Regions from separate parts of the Homo sapiens genome. Here all the other regions are linked to region 1. The links are contacts of gene promoters, found by promoter capture Hi-C in blood cells and fetal thymus (Javierre and others, 2016). All regions are on one chromosome and are shown on one strand. Each heading gives the region's core, a stretch centred on a gene start or on the middle of the fragment in contact. The rest is flanking DNA. Distances are from core to core; before and after follow the strand shown. Region 1 holds the start of CSTF2T (cleavage stimulation factor subunit 2 tau variant). Region 2 overlaps BMS1 (BMS1 ribosome biogenesis factor). Region 3 overlaps IPMK (inositol polyphosphate multikinase). Region 4 holds the start of UBE2D1 (ubiquitin conjugating enzyme E2 D1).

Evidence for each region. Contacts are between HindIII fragments. The CHiCAGO score rates a contact against its expected background, and 5 or more counts as called.
Region 2: a fragment that was not itself captured here is called in contact with the fragment with the promoter of CSTF2T in region 1 in 1 of 17 cell types (monocytes); the score reaches 7.5 in monocytes.
Region 3: a fragment that was not itself captured here is called in contact with the fragment with the promoter of CSTF2T in region 1 in 2 of 17 cell types (total B cells and non-activated CD4 T cells); the score reaches 7.9 in total B cells.
Region 4: the fragment with the promoter of UBE2D1 here is called in contact with the fragment with the promoter of CSTF2T in region 1 in 1 of 17 cell types (activated CD4 T cells); the score reaches 10.3 in activated CD4 T cells.

Annotation. Positions count from the first base shown.
Region 1 is chr10:51,698,311-51,701,010 of GRCh38, reverse strand. It overlaps CSTF2T (cleavage stimulation factor subunit 2 tau variant), which reads left to right and starts at 1,416. Exons shown (of 1, transcript NM_015235.3): 1 at 1,416-2,700. The coding sequence starts at 1,462. The region is part of intron 3 of PRKG1 (protein kinase cGMP-dependent 1); the gene reads right to left. RefSeq lists a silencer at 288-582 and enhancers at 336-1,024, 1,149-1,728. The HindIII fragment of the contact is 5,025 bases long and covers 404-2,700 here.
Region 2 is chr10:42,784,074-42,786,773 of GRCh38, reverse strand. BMS1 (BMS1 ribosome biogenesis factor) reads right to left here. Exons shown (of 23, transcript NM_014753.4): 2 at 2,204-2,412; 3 at 1,102-1,292. The coding sequence starts at 2,379. Among named protein-coding and RNA genes, the nearest start is that of BMS1, 2.6 kb to the right of the region's middle. The HindIII fragment of the contact is 1,222 bases long and covers 833-2,054 here.
Region 3 is chr10:58,262,132-58,264,831 of GRCh38, reverse strand. The region is part of intron 1 of IPMK (inositol polyphosphate multikinase); the gene reads left to right. Among named protein-coding and RNA genes, the nearest start is that of IPMK, 4.4 kb to the left of the region's middle. The HindIII fragment of the contact is 3,933 bases long and covers 1-2,700 here.
Region 4 is chr10:58,333,644-58,336,343 of GRCh38, reverse strand. It overlaps UBE2D1 (ubiquitin conjugating enzyme E2 D1), which reads right to left and starts at 1,338. Exons shown (of 7, transcript NM_003338.5): 1 at 1,119-1,338. The coding sequence starts at 1,142. RefSeq lists a silencer at 954-1,473 and enhancers at 1,281-1,575, 1,174-1,674. The HindIII fragment of the contact is 6,404 bases long and covers 1-2,700 here.

The DNA of each region.
Region 1 (2,700 bases), core at 167-2,666:
TAAAATCTTTCATGTATGTTACATGTATGGCACACCTCAACCAGTATGTTAAATTTTGACTGGAAATACTTTCTTTTTATTTGTTTTTATTTTTTGTCTTAGTGTTCTTCAAAATGATTTTTATTTAGAACACAATTTATTATTGCAAAAGTAGATTCTATATCCAAGTTGTTCTAAATACTAAAAAAGTTTTCCAATAGCTTACTGAACATTAGTTTTTATATTTAAATAAAAAATGAGATTTAAAATTCATTTCTTCAATCACACTAGCTTCATTTCATATATTCAATACACGTAAGGCAGTGTAGAATTGGAGCTATGCGAGACCAAGCTGGGTTAGAATCCTGACTTGGCCTCTTTCCAGCTGCTTGTCCTTGGGAATTTACCTAGCCCTCTCCAAGCTTCAGTTCTAGCTTCGAATTGCAGGCGGGGAAACACCACACTGAATATGTTTTAACTCCTACCTGCAAAGCTAACAGCAGAAGACAAACACCCGCTATTTGTTTCTCCCTTCATGGAAGTGGTGGACTCACTGCATGATATAATAAAAATCAGAACCAATCAACGTAGGGATAGTTAAGTAAATTTCTTTATTCCATACTCTGAAGCCATAAAATACTAATAACTAATTAATCACTAATTTATTTAATCACCAATTAATATTGAAATCGGTTGTTATTAAGGAAGAAAACCGTAATATTAGGAATAGCACGACGGCTGCCCGTGTGCTCAGGAAAAACCTAGAAGGGTCTGCCACCCATCCATTAACAGCGGTTATAGGAAGCAACAGAATGGGGGCAGGGCCCAGCCGGCACACGCTTCAGTTTATATTTCTTGTCAGTTAATTTCCAAAAACGTTGTTCTAAAAAGGAGATATAATACTGTTTTAGTTTAAGGGGCAAATCTCAAATGTGCTGAAACGACTACGCTTTTCCCTCAGTCTGGAATGTGATTTTAAATCTAGCTTAACTATACTATAATAAAAGGCCACATGAAAATACTTTGTCAGAACGAAAAACACGCCGCCTTAAATCCGCTTTCGGTTGGCGGTTTCCCGCCAGCGGAACGGAAGCAAAACCGCCTTTGACGTCAAGGGAAGAGTCCCCTCCCAGTTACTACGGTGAAGTCTATGCGGCCATCTTTACTGTGGTCATCTCGTACCAAGCGTGTCGTAGTGGGGCTGTTGGGGCCCCACAGAAAGTCAGCGGAACGTGAAATGGGAAAGGAATCATGCGACTCTGTAATAAGAAGCTGACAGAACCATGAAGGATCAGGGACTGAAAGCATTAGATAAGTTGTTAGTGGGATGCAGGTTCCACAGGCAAGCGGAACGATTCAAGCGAATTAGTAAAGTTTCTGCCCGGATCTTGAAAGCCGCTTCCGTTGCTCAGCGGAAGTGTCGGTCGCAAGAGGACAGACGCCTCGAAGAATCCGCTATCGGCTGTCTGCACAACCGGAATCATGTCGAGTTTGGCGGTGAGAGACCCGGCAATGGATCGATCACTGCGTTCCGTGTTCGTGGGGAACATTCCATATGAGGCAACTGAGGAGCAGTTAAAGGACATTTTCTCGGAGGTTGGTTCTGTTGTCAGTTTCCGGCTGGTATACGATAGAGAGACGGGAAAACCCAAGGGCTATGGCTTCTGCGAATACCAAGACCAGGAGACCGCGCTTAGTGCCATGCGGAACCTCAATGGGCGGGAGTTCAGTGGGAGAGCGCTTCGGGTGGACAATGCTGCCAGTGAAAAGAATAAGGAGGAGTTAAAGAGCCTTGGGCCTGCAGCGCCCATTATTGACTCACCCTATGGGGATCCCATCGATCCAGAAGATGCCCCTGAATCGATTACCAGAGCAGTAGCCAGTCTCCCCCCGGAGCAGATGTTTGAGCTGATGAAGCAGATGAAGCTCTGTGTCCAAAACAGCCACCAGGAAGCTCGAAACATGTTACTTCAAAATCCACAACTGGCTTATGCACTGTTGCAGGCACAAGTAGTGATGAGAATCATGGATCCAGAGATTGCTCTGAAAATTCTGCATCGGAAGATACATGTCACACCACTGATCCCAGGCAAATCTCAGTCTGTGTCTGTCTCTGGCCCTGGCCCTGGCCCTGGCCCTGGGCTCTGCCCAGGACCTAATGTTCTGCTGAACCAGCAGAATCCTCCAGCTCCTCAGCCTCAGCATTTGGCTAGAAGACCTGTGAAGGACATTCCTCCTCTGATGCAGACTCCTATCCAGGGTGGAATTCCAGCTCCAGGGCCAATACCAGCTGCAGTTCCCGGAGCTGGTCCTGGTTCCTTAACTCCTGGAGGAGCAATGCAGCCCCAACTTGGAATGCCAGGGGTTGGCCCAGTGCCTTTAGAGCGGGGACAAGTGCAGATGTCAGATCCTAGAGCTCCTATACCTCGCGGACCCGTGACTCCTGGTGGTCTGCCTCCTCGAGGACTGTTAGGAGATGCTCCAAATGACCCACGTGGAGGGACTTTGCTTTCAGTCACTGGAGAAGTGGAGCCCAGAGGTTATCTGGGTCCACCCCATCAGGGTCCCCCCATGCATCATGCCTCTGGTCATGACACTCGTGGCCCTTCCTCACATGAGATGAGGGGAGGGCCATTAGGAGATCCCAGACTGCTAATTGGAGAGCCCAGAGGCCCCATGATAGATCAAAGGGGTCTACCTATGGATGGTAGAGGTGGTAGA
Region 2 (2,700 bases), core at 194-2,693, 8.9 Mb after region 1:
ATAATTACTTCTAAATTAAGGTAAAAATAAAACAGTCAAGAAAATATGGGCTGGGCACAGTAGCTCTCGCCTGTAGTCCCAGCAACTTGGGAGGCCAAGGCAGGCGGATCCCTTGAGCCCAGGAGTTTTGAGACCAGCCTGGGCCATATGGGGAAACCCCATCTCTACAGAAAAAAAAAAAAAAGGAAAAAAAAGAAAAATTAGCCAGGCGTGGTGGCATACACTACTCAGGAGGCTAAGGTAGGAGGAATGCTTGAACCTGGGAGGTAGAGGCTGCAGTGAGCCGTAATCACACCACTGCACTCCAGCCTGTACCACAGAGTAAGACTCTGTCTCAAAAAAGGGAAAAGAAAATATGGATGCTCCAAAGATAAAGAAAAGCCTCAATCCAACTATATTATTGCAATAACAAGAGATTTCAGAGTGTACATTGCCATTCTACCACTGGAAGTTTGTTTCATTTTCCCTCAAACTCGGAAAGGTCACCATCTCCCAAAGCAGACAATTCTCACAGGAAAAAGAGAAAACTCGCACTTCCACCAGAATGTGGCTTCATAAGGCAAGCATATGCACCTGGCACATAGGAGGTGCGTGCTATCTGTTAAATGATGTGTTCACGGTGACTAGGCCTGCTAGGCCCTTCCAAGGAACATGTTTGGCAAAGCCAAAGAGCAGTCAGGATAAGACATAGTGAACATTATCATTTCTCATACAAAAAATGGAGGAGGAAACCAGGAAGAAAAGGAAAGCATCACCTTAAGAGGCTGGACCACACATCCTTCTACACGGAGGAAGAGGACTGTGGCTGGTGTCGCAATCGAGCAGCAAAGCTTGATTTTCCAGCCCGAGTGCTGGGTTCGAGTATCTTCCTGCCTTGGAACCTCCCAGAGTGCTGGGAGGAAATGTGAACATTATCACATCCTTATCTCTGGGAACTTACCCTTTTCTGAAGCTATAGCCAACTTAGTAATACTAAGTATAAGAGAAGTCCCATGATATGACAATATTTAACATGTTCCACTCAAGAAAACAACAAACGCATGCATGTCCCTCAGATGACAACAGCCACGCCAACTCTGTGTCTGTGGTGGCATCTCCTACCTGACACAATCGTCACAGGGCCTCTGATCTCAGTCAACTTCTGCCGGGTAAAGTTCCGAATGAGGCATTGTATCAAAGTGCTCTTTCCAACTTTTGGAGGTCCCATCACCACTACCACTATTGGTGGGGGCTCTAGTGGAGTTCGATCAACCACTGGAATATGATGCTTTTTTGTCTTCAAATCCTGAGTCCTATTCATTAAAAAATAAACAAATAAATAAATAGTAAACTCATTTTCAAAATAGAGTAAAAGGTATCAACCTTATAAGTAGACTTTTTTGGTACACTTATAGCTATGAGTACTTTAGCACATTTTATAGAGAGTACAACAGACAATATATAAATATAATTAACTTGTCAATTATTAACTTGCTAACTTCTGGCCCCATCCAAATAATTGCTGTTCAATAAAGATGTAACAAGATGACTTCAATACTATAGAGAGCGAAAATTAAACACTCCTTAAATCTGACTGTTTTAAGAGTGATTTTAATAGTTTTTTAAAAAACCAAAAGGTAAATAGCGAGGCAGTACATCATAGCAGATAAGAGCAGAGGCGCTGGAGTTACATTTAGCTCTCCTACTTACTGGTTATATGATTGGAGGTAACTTGTTTTCTTGATCTCAGTTTTCTTACCCATAAAATGAGGGCAAGAATGATTCCTACTCTGGTAAGGCTGCTGGAAGGATTTAGTTGAATAATGTTTAAAGTACACTGCTAGGCATATCACAAGGGCTCACTAAATAAAGCTATGTTAGTATTAAATATTGTAATTTTTGTATTTTATATTACAACTATGTAAAACATACCTGGGGGGAAAAAGCACACTTATCACCATAGAAACAGTTTAAAATTTAGGAACAAACAAAGTCTATAAATTCTTGTATCCTGGGCAATAAACACTAACCAGTATGCAGATGCTGGAGGCAAGGCAGCTTCTATGGGAAAAGCTTCTCACGTTTTAGTGAAAGCCACACACCATGAATCTCCATGTCCTTTGGAGCTGGACTAGACTCGTGAATCCAAATGTCACCTGTGAGAGGCTCCTACTATTTAAAAAAAGAATCAATGGAAGAATGACCAGACCGTAGCCTAACATACCTGTGAAAGGATCGAGCCATCCGCACAGCAGACTGAACTGCAAAAGCTTTGGGATTTCTCTTCCGGGCATCTTCTTCGTCTCCTAGCTGGAGATCCTGCAGAAGCCGCTTCTTTTTCTTTGCAGCTTTGGGTCCACTGTTTTTCTTTCTGTGTTTCTTCTGGTCCTTAGCCTCCATAGTGGCTATTTACCAATAACAAGTAACTCTAACCTACAAGGAAGAAGGTTGGGGTAAGGAGATGGGAGAAGCATTTTACAATCCAGGCAATACCCAGGGAAAAACAGTAAATTTCATTTATTTCTTTATGAAGAGATGATGTATTTGTTCACTGAACAAGGGTAGAAACTGCTTAACCATCCCCAATTTCATTTCTCTCTGTTATGCTATAAATTAGATGAGTTACCTCTCTTAAGATTACATTTTATGGTTAAGTTACTTTTTATTCATCTTAAGTGTCAACATCAGCAGTATCTATTTCTGCAAGGATAGAAATATACT
Region 3 (2,700 bases), core at 192-2,691, 6.6 Mb before region 1:
CATTCTGTATTATATCATGTATTATACCTATATTTTTGCACTTACGGTATACTTTATTCTTTCTAAAAATTGTGTTCTACAATGTGGATGTATCACAATTTATTTAACTATTTCTGTAATCATAGATTTTTAGACTTTTCACCATTTGTTTGCTGTGATAAGTAATGTACTTATTAAACATTCTTGTATATAATAGCATACCTTGCACGTTGTGTACCTATCTCTGTAGGAAGTTTTCGCAAAAAAAAGATCAATATAAATTCCCAAAACTCACCAAAGTTAGCATAAAATTCTTTTAATATGTATCATTAAGTTCTTTAAAAAGTCCTTAAAGTTTTAAACAAATGATGGAAATCTGATATTTCTTGATCTGATGTAGGATGTAGAAATGGGGTAGTCTATAGGGAAAACAAGGATTTAAACTGATAATTGTTGTGGGGGAGAAAGACCTACAATTATCTTGGCTTAGTAGTCTCTTTTTATTAGATATCCTCTGAAACTAATTAACCTAAAATAATTTCAAGCCTACAGAAAAGTTGCAAGAACAATAGAAAAGTAACATTTTGCAAAATTTGTTTTATTATCTCTCAATGCAAATAATTTTTCTTAACTATTTGCAAGTAGGTTGCATACATTATGCCACTTTACATGTTAATACTAAAGTGTGTCTTCCTTAAGAACAAGGATATTCTCTTCTGTAGCCACAGCACATTGATCAACTATGGGAAATTTAACAGGGATATAATACTTTAATCTATAGTCCATAGTCTCACTTTGTCAACTGTTCCAATACTGTAATGTCTTTTATCACATTTGTTTTTCTCAGTACAGGATCTGGTCCAGAATCATTTATTGCAATTAGTTGTTATGTCTTTTAGTGTCCTTTCATTTGTAACATATCCTCAGCCTTTCCCTGTCCTTTATGACATTGTCATTTTGAAGAGTACAGGCCAGTTATTTTATGAAATGTTCTTTAATTTGGGTTTCTGATAGTTCCTTACGATGGGATTCAGATGATACTTTTCCAGCTGGAACATTGTGTAAGTGGAGGCCAACAATAGCTGCCCTTTGGTAGTGGATTATTTCTGGTTGTCTGATTCAAGTGTAGTCTGGCTTCTTCAGTATATCGTTTTGTTTGTTTGTTTTTTGAGACAGGCTCTTGCTGTGTCACCTAGGCTGGAGTGCAGTGGCGTGATGTAGTTCACTGCAGCCTCAAACTTCAGGGCTCAAGCAATCCTCCTGCCTCAGCCTCCTGAGTAGCCGGGAGTATAGGTGCACACCACTAGGCCAGGCTAATTTTTTTTTTTTTTAACGGAGTCTTGCTCTGTTGCCCAGGCTGGAGAACAGTGGCGCGGTCTTGACTCACTGCAACCTCCGCCTCCCAGGTTCAAGTGATTCTCGTGCCTCAGCCTCTTAAGTAGCTAGGATTACAGGAGTGCACCACCATGCCTGGCTAATTTTTGTATTTTTAGTAGAGACGGGGTTTTGCCATGTTGGCCAGGCTGGTCTTGAGCTCCTGGCCTCAGGTGATCCACCCACCTCTGCCTGCCAAAGTGCTGGGATTACAGGCATGAACCACTGCTGGGCCAGGCTAATTTTAAAATTTTTTGTAGAGATGGGATCTGGCTTTGTTGCCCAGGCTGGTCTTGAACTACTGGCTTCAAGTGATCCTTCTGCTTCAGCCTCCCAAAGTGCTAGGATTACAGGAATGAGTCACCATGCCTGGCTTCAGTATATAGTTAATGTTTTCTGTTCTACATTTAATAAGCTATATGTGAGGAGACACTTTACAGTCATGCAGCTATCTGGATTCTCATCAACTTCATCCCTAGATTTGGCATCTGTTGATTCTTGCCTGAAGCTGTGTTTATTCTGATAGTTACAAAATTGTGATTTTTTCCCCCCATTCTTTCACTCCCTCTGCTTTAACAGCTAGCATTCCAAGAAATAGCTCTTCCTTTACCCTTAAGTATTTATGTCCTTATTTATAATCAGTTTGCATCATGGATTCCTATTTGATAACATGTATCATTACCCATTATGGAACTTATTTATTGGACTTTAATCACATCTCAATGTTTTTAAAAAAGGAACTTATTTATTTTGTTGCTCAAATGGTCCCAAATTTGACCATTGAGAGCACTTCCTTTCTGTCATAACAGATTTTTTAGAATTATCTCATAACTTTCTTCCCCAGCCCTAGAGTCAACCATTTCTTCAAGGAGCCCTGGTTTCTTTTTAGTGGAAAATGGTATTTAGAAACCAAGATCTGTGTTACTAGGTATTGTCATAACTGTTGGAGTATCATTTCTTCCAGGACTTTTCAATGGACATGATTTTTAAAGTATGTATAAATATTTTAGAAATTATAATTTCATATTTCAAATTTCATTTAAACCCGAGTTCTTCCTTTCCCTTGATTCTAAATTTGTATTTCCCTTCTTCTGTAGTAAGAACCCTGGCTCCCAGTGATATTAATATGTTTATTCTTTTGCTTAATCTTACAATTTTCAGAATTTCTACACCCATACTACTTCAGAAAACAAGCCTAGAATAAAGAATTCAGGATGAGATTTTTTTATTTATTTATTATACTTTAAGTTCTGGGGTACATGTGCACAACGTGCAGGTTTGTTACATATGTATACATGTGCAGTGTTGGTTTGCTGCACTCGTTAACTAGTCATTTACATTAGGTAT
Region 4 (2,700 bases), core at 89-2,588, 6.6 Mb before region 1:
ATGTGGGCATCAATTTCTTCTGAAACAACTACAAAATACACTGTCCATTGTTGCTTAACTTAGTGAAAAGCACTCCCTATTTAACAAACACATTCTCAATGTTGCCAGTGTGAACTGTAACTGTAAAACCTAAAACTTGGGTCAGTACACAGACCAACAAGAAATAAAAATGAACAGAAAGAAATGCCCGAATCTGAATTCTGAAGGATGTTCGCATCTGAAATGGTGGCAATAAATACTGTGAAAAAAAGACGATTCCATACACAGGGTTGAGATGGGTAAACAGTTGTTGGATGAAGATATATATTTCTTCCTCATTCTATACCCATGTGTCAAAGCATCAAAACAATTTATTTGCGACAGTTTATGTTGTGTCTCGAACTTTACATCTAAGTTTATCATGAGGGGGAAAAAAACCTGTTTGGCTTGACTCACCGTGAATCACAGCCAGGAGGTCATCTTGTTGTGTATCAGCAACTATGTTTTCGCTACAGCTATGTGACCTGAAGTGGCAGCAGCAGAGGCACCAAAATAGAAGGGGCAGGAGCCTTCTCCTGACTTCTTGGCCGCAAATGGGCTTTCCAGCCCATTCGGGCAACTGAGCAAGAGCCAACCGCAGAGGAGAGAAAGAACCAACCCGACAGCTCCGCGGAGAAAGGCTGCAGGCCCACCCCACCTTCCTTGCCCTCCCGGGGAGGCCGGGTAAGCAAGAACATAAAAGAGGACAGGCTTAAGAAACAGCCTGGAGAAAACACAGCATGACAGGGGTCAAAACTAGCCCCATGGAGGGCAAAACCCGGCCGTGACCGTGAAGCACAGATTTCGGGACGGTCTGGACGCGCAAGAGGCTCTCTACCCTGGGGCTCCGGGAGCGGCTCCGGCGCGAACGCGCGCGGGCCCCCAGCCTTCAAGCTCCTCCGGCCGCCTGGGACCTGACCCTGCTCCCACCTCACCTGTCCGATGCCCGCTGGCCCGGCCCGAGCCTTCAGCTCCCTGCCCGCACCCCGGCCCACCCTTCCATCCCTTGCTCTCCCCGCATGTCTCTCGGGACCACTGGCCGAGTCAGCGTGGGCAGGGGGCCGCTGCCCCGCAGCCCCAGGCCCGGCCCCGGCACTCACTTTCTGAATCCTCTTCAGCGCCATGGGTCAGGGATGGCGGTGGGGACACCGGCCGGCAGGGGTCGGCTGCGGGGCTCAGGGGCGTGGGTCGTCGCGGGTTGGGCTCGCTGGCAGCTAGGCTGGCTCCGCGCGGTGGGTCCCCGGTTAGCCGCTCCCTGGCTCGCTCCGGGCGCCGGTCCCTGCTCCGTGTGCGCCCGAGCGCGAGTGTGCGCGAGTGTGCGGGCGGGGACGCCGGCGAGACTCTTTTGTTTCCGCTTTTGCTTCTGGGAAGGAGCCTGCGCCCTCCCCGCCGCGCCCCGCCCCGCCTGGCACACTGGGAAGTGTAGTTCCAGCCCTGTCCTCGGCTGCAGGCCCCCGGACGCTGCCAGGTAACTTACTGCTGACCTCAGCCAGGCAGCTTAAGGTGAGAGCTGCCGGGGGCTGGAATTAGCCTCTACAGTCTCATTTAGAGCAAATTGCTGAACCTGGGGCTGCGCATCTGTAAAATGGGGATAACAAATGAGCTCCTAACGCACATAAAGGAATTTCTAAATCATCAGTTAGTAATTCCTTATCCAATAGGTGCCACAGCTGGTTTTATTATTTTTACCTTTAAAGATTTCACTGTCTTTTCTCAAATATATGGATTGTCTCACTCACCCTGCACACATGCACAAACTCATATCAGACCCCCTACTTACCTCCTTGGTTCTTATTGCAGAGGAAAAAGGTGTCTCTTCTGTCCAATGTGCAAATCTTCCTTGTCTGAGTGCATTGTCTGCTCGTAGGTATGCCCCTCCCATAAATTACCCACTTCGAACACCGAGTTCTGGGCTCTCACTCCCATCATTGGTTCCTTCCCTTCCGTTGACAGTCCCTGACCAATAGTCAACTCACGCTCCCCACTCTCCAATTCCTATGCACTTGTGTACCCATTAAAACTTGGCTTCTTGGCCAAGATGAGATTTGGGTGGGGACACAGCCAAACCATATCACTCAGGGATATAAAGATGGCAACAAATAGACACTGTGGACTACTAGAGAGGGGACCGAGGGAGCAAAGGTTGAAAAACTGTTGGGTACTATTGTCAGTACCTGGGTGATAAAATCATTCATACCACAAATGTCAGCATCACACAGCATACCCAGGTAGCAAACTTGCATATGTGGCCTCTAAATCTAAAATAAAAGTTGAAAAACAAAAACAAACAAACAAAAACAGAATCTTGAGCCCCACTCCAGACATGCTACATCACACTTTGCAGTTTAATAAGACTCCTAGGTGATTCAGATGAACATTAGGGTTTGAGAAGCACTATGCTGGAAGGCATAAGAGGAGATCCTAAAAATGCAGATTTCCTTTAAAGGATTTAATTTAGCAGTAAGTTTTGGGTGAAGCTCTGGAGTCTAAACTTTAGAACAAACTTCCCAGGAAGTTAGGATGCAGGTATCTGAGGACACTTTTGAGAATCTCCACCTTGAGCAAATCTTCAAATCCTTCTAAGCCTCAATTTCCTCACCCATAACTAATGCAATAAATGTTGTATTTGTTTAAAGGGAATAGAGCTGAAACTTTTGGTGCCCTTCTAACTCAAAGGTCTAT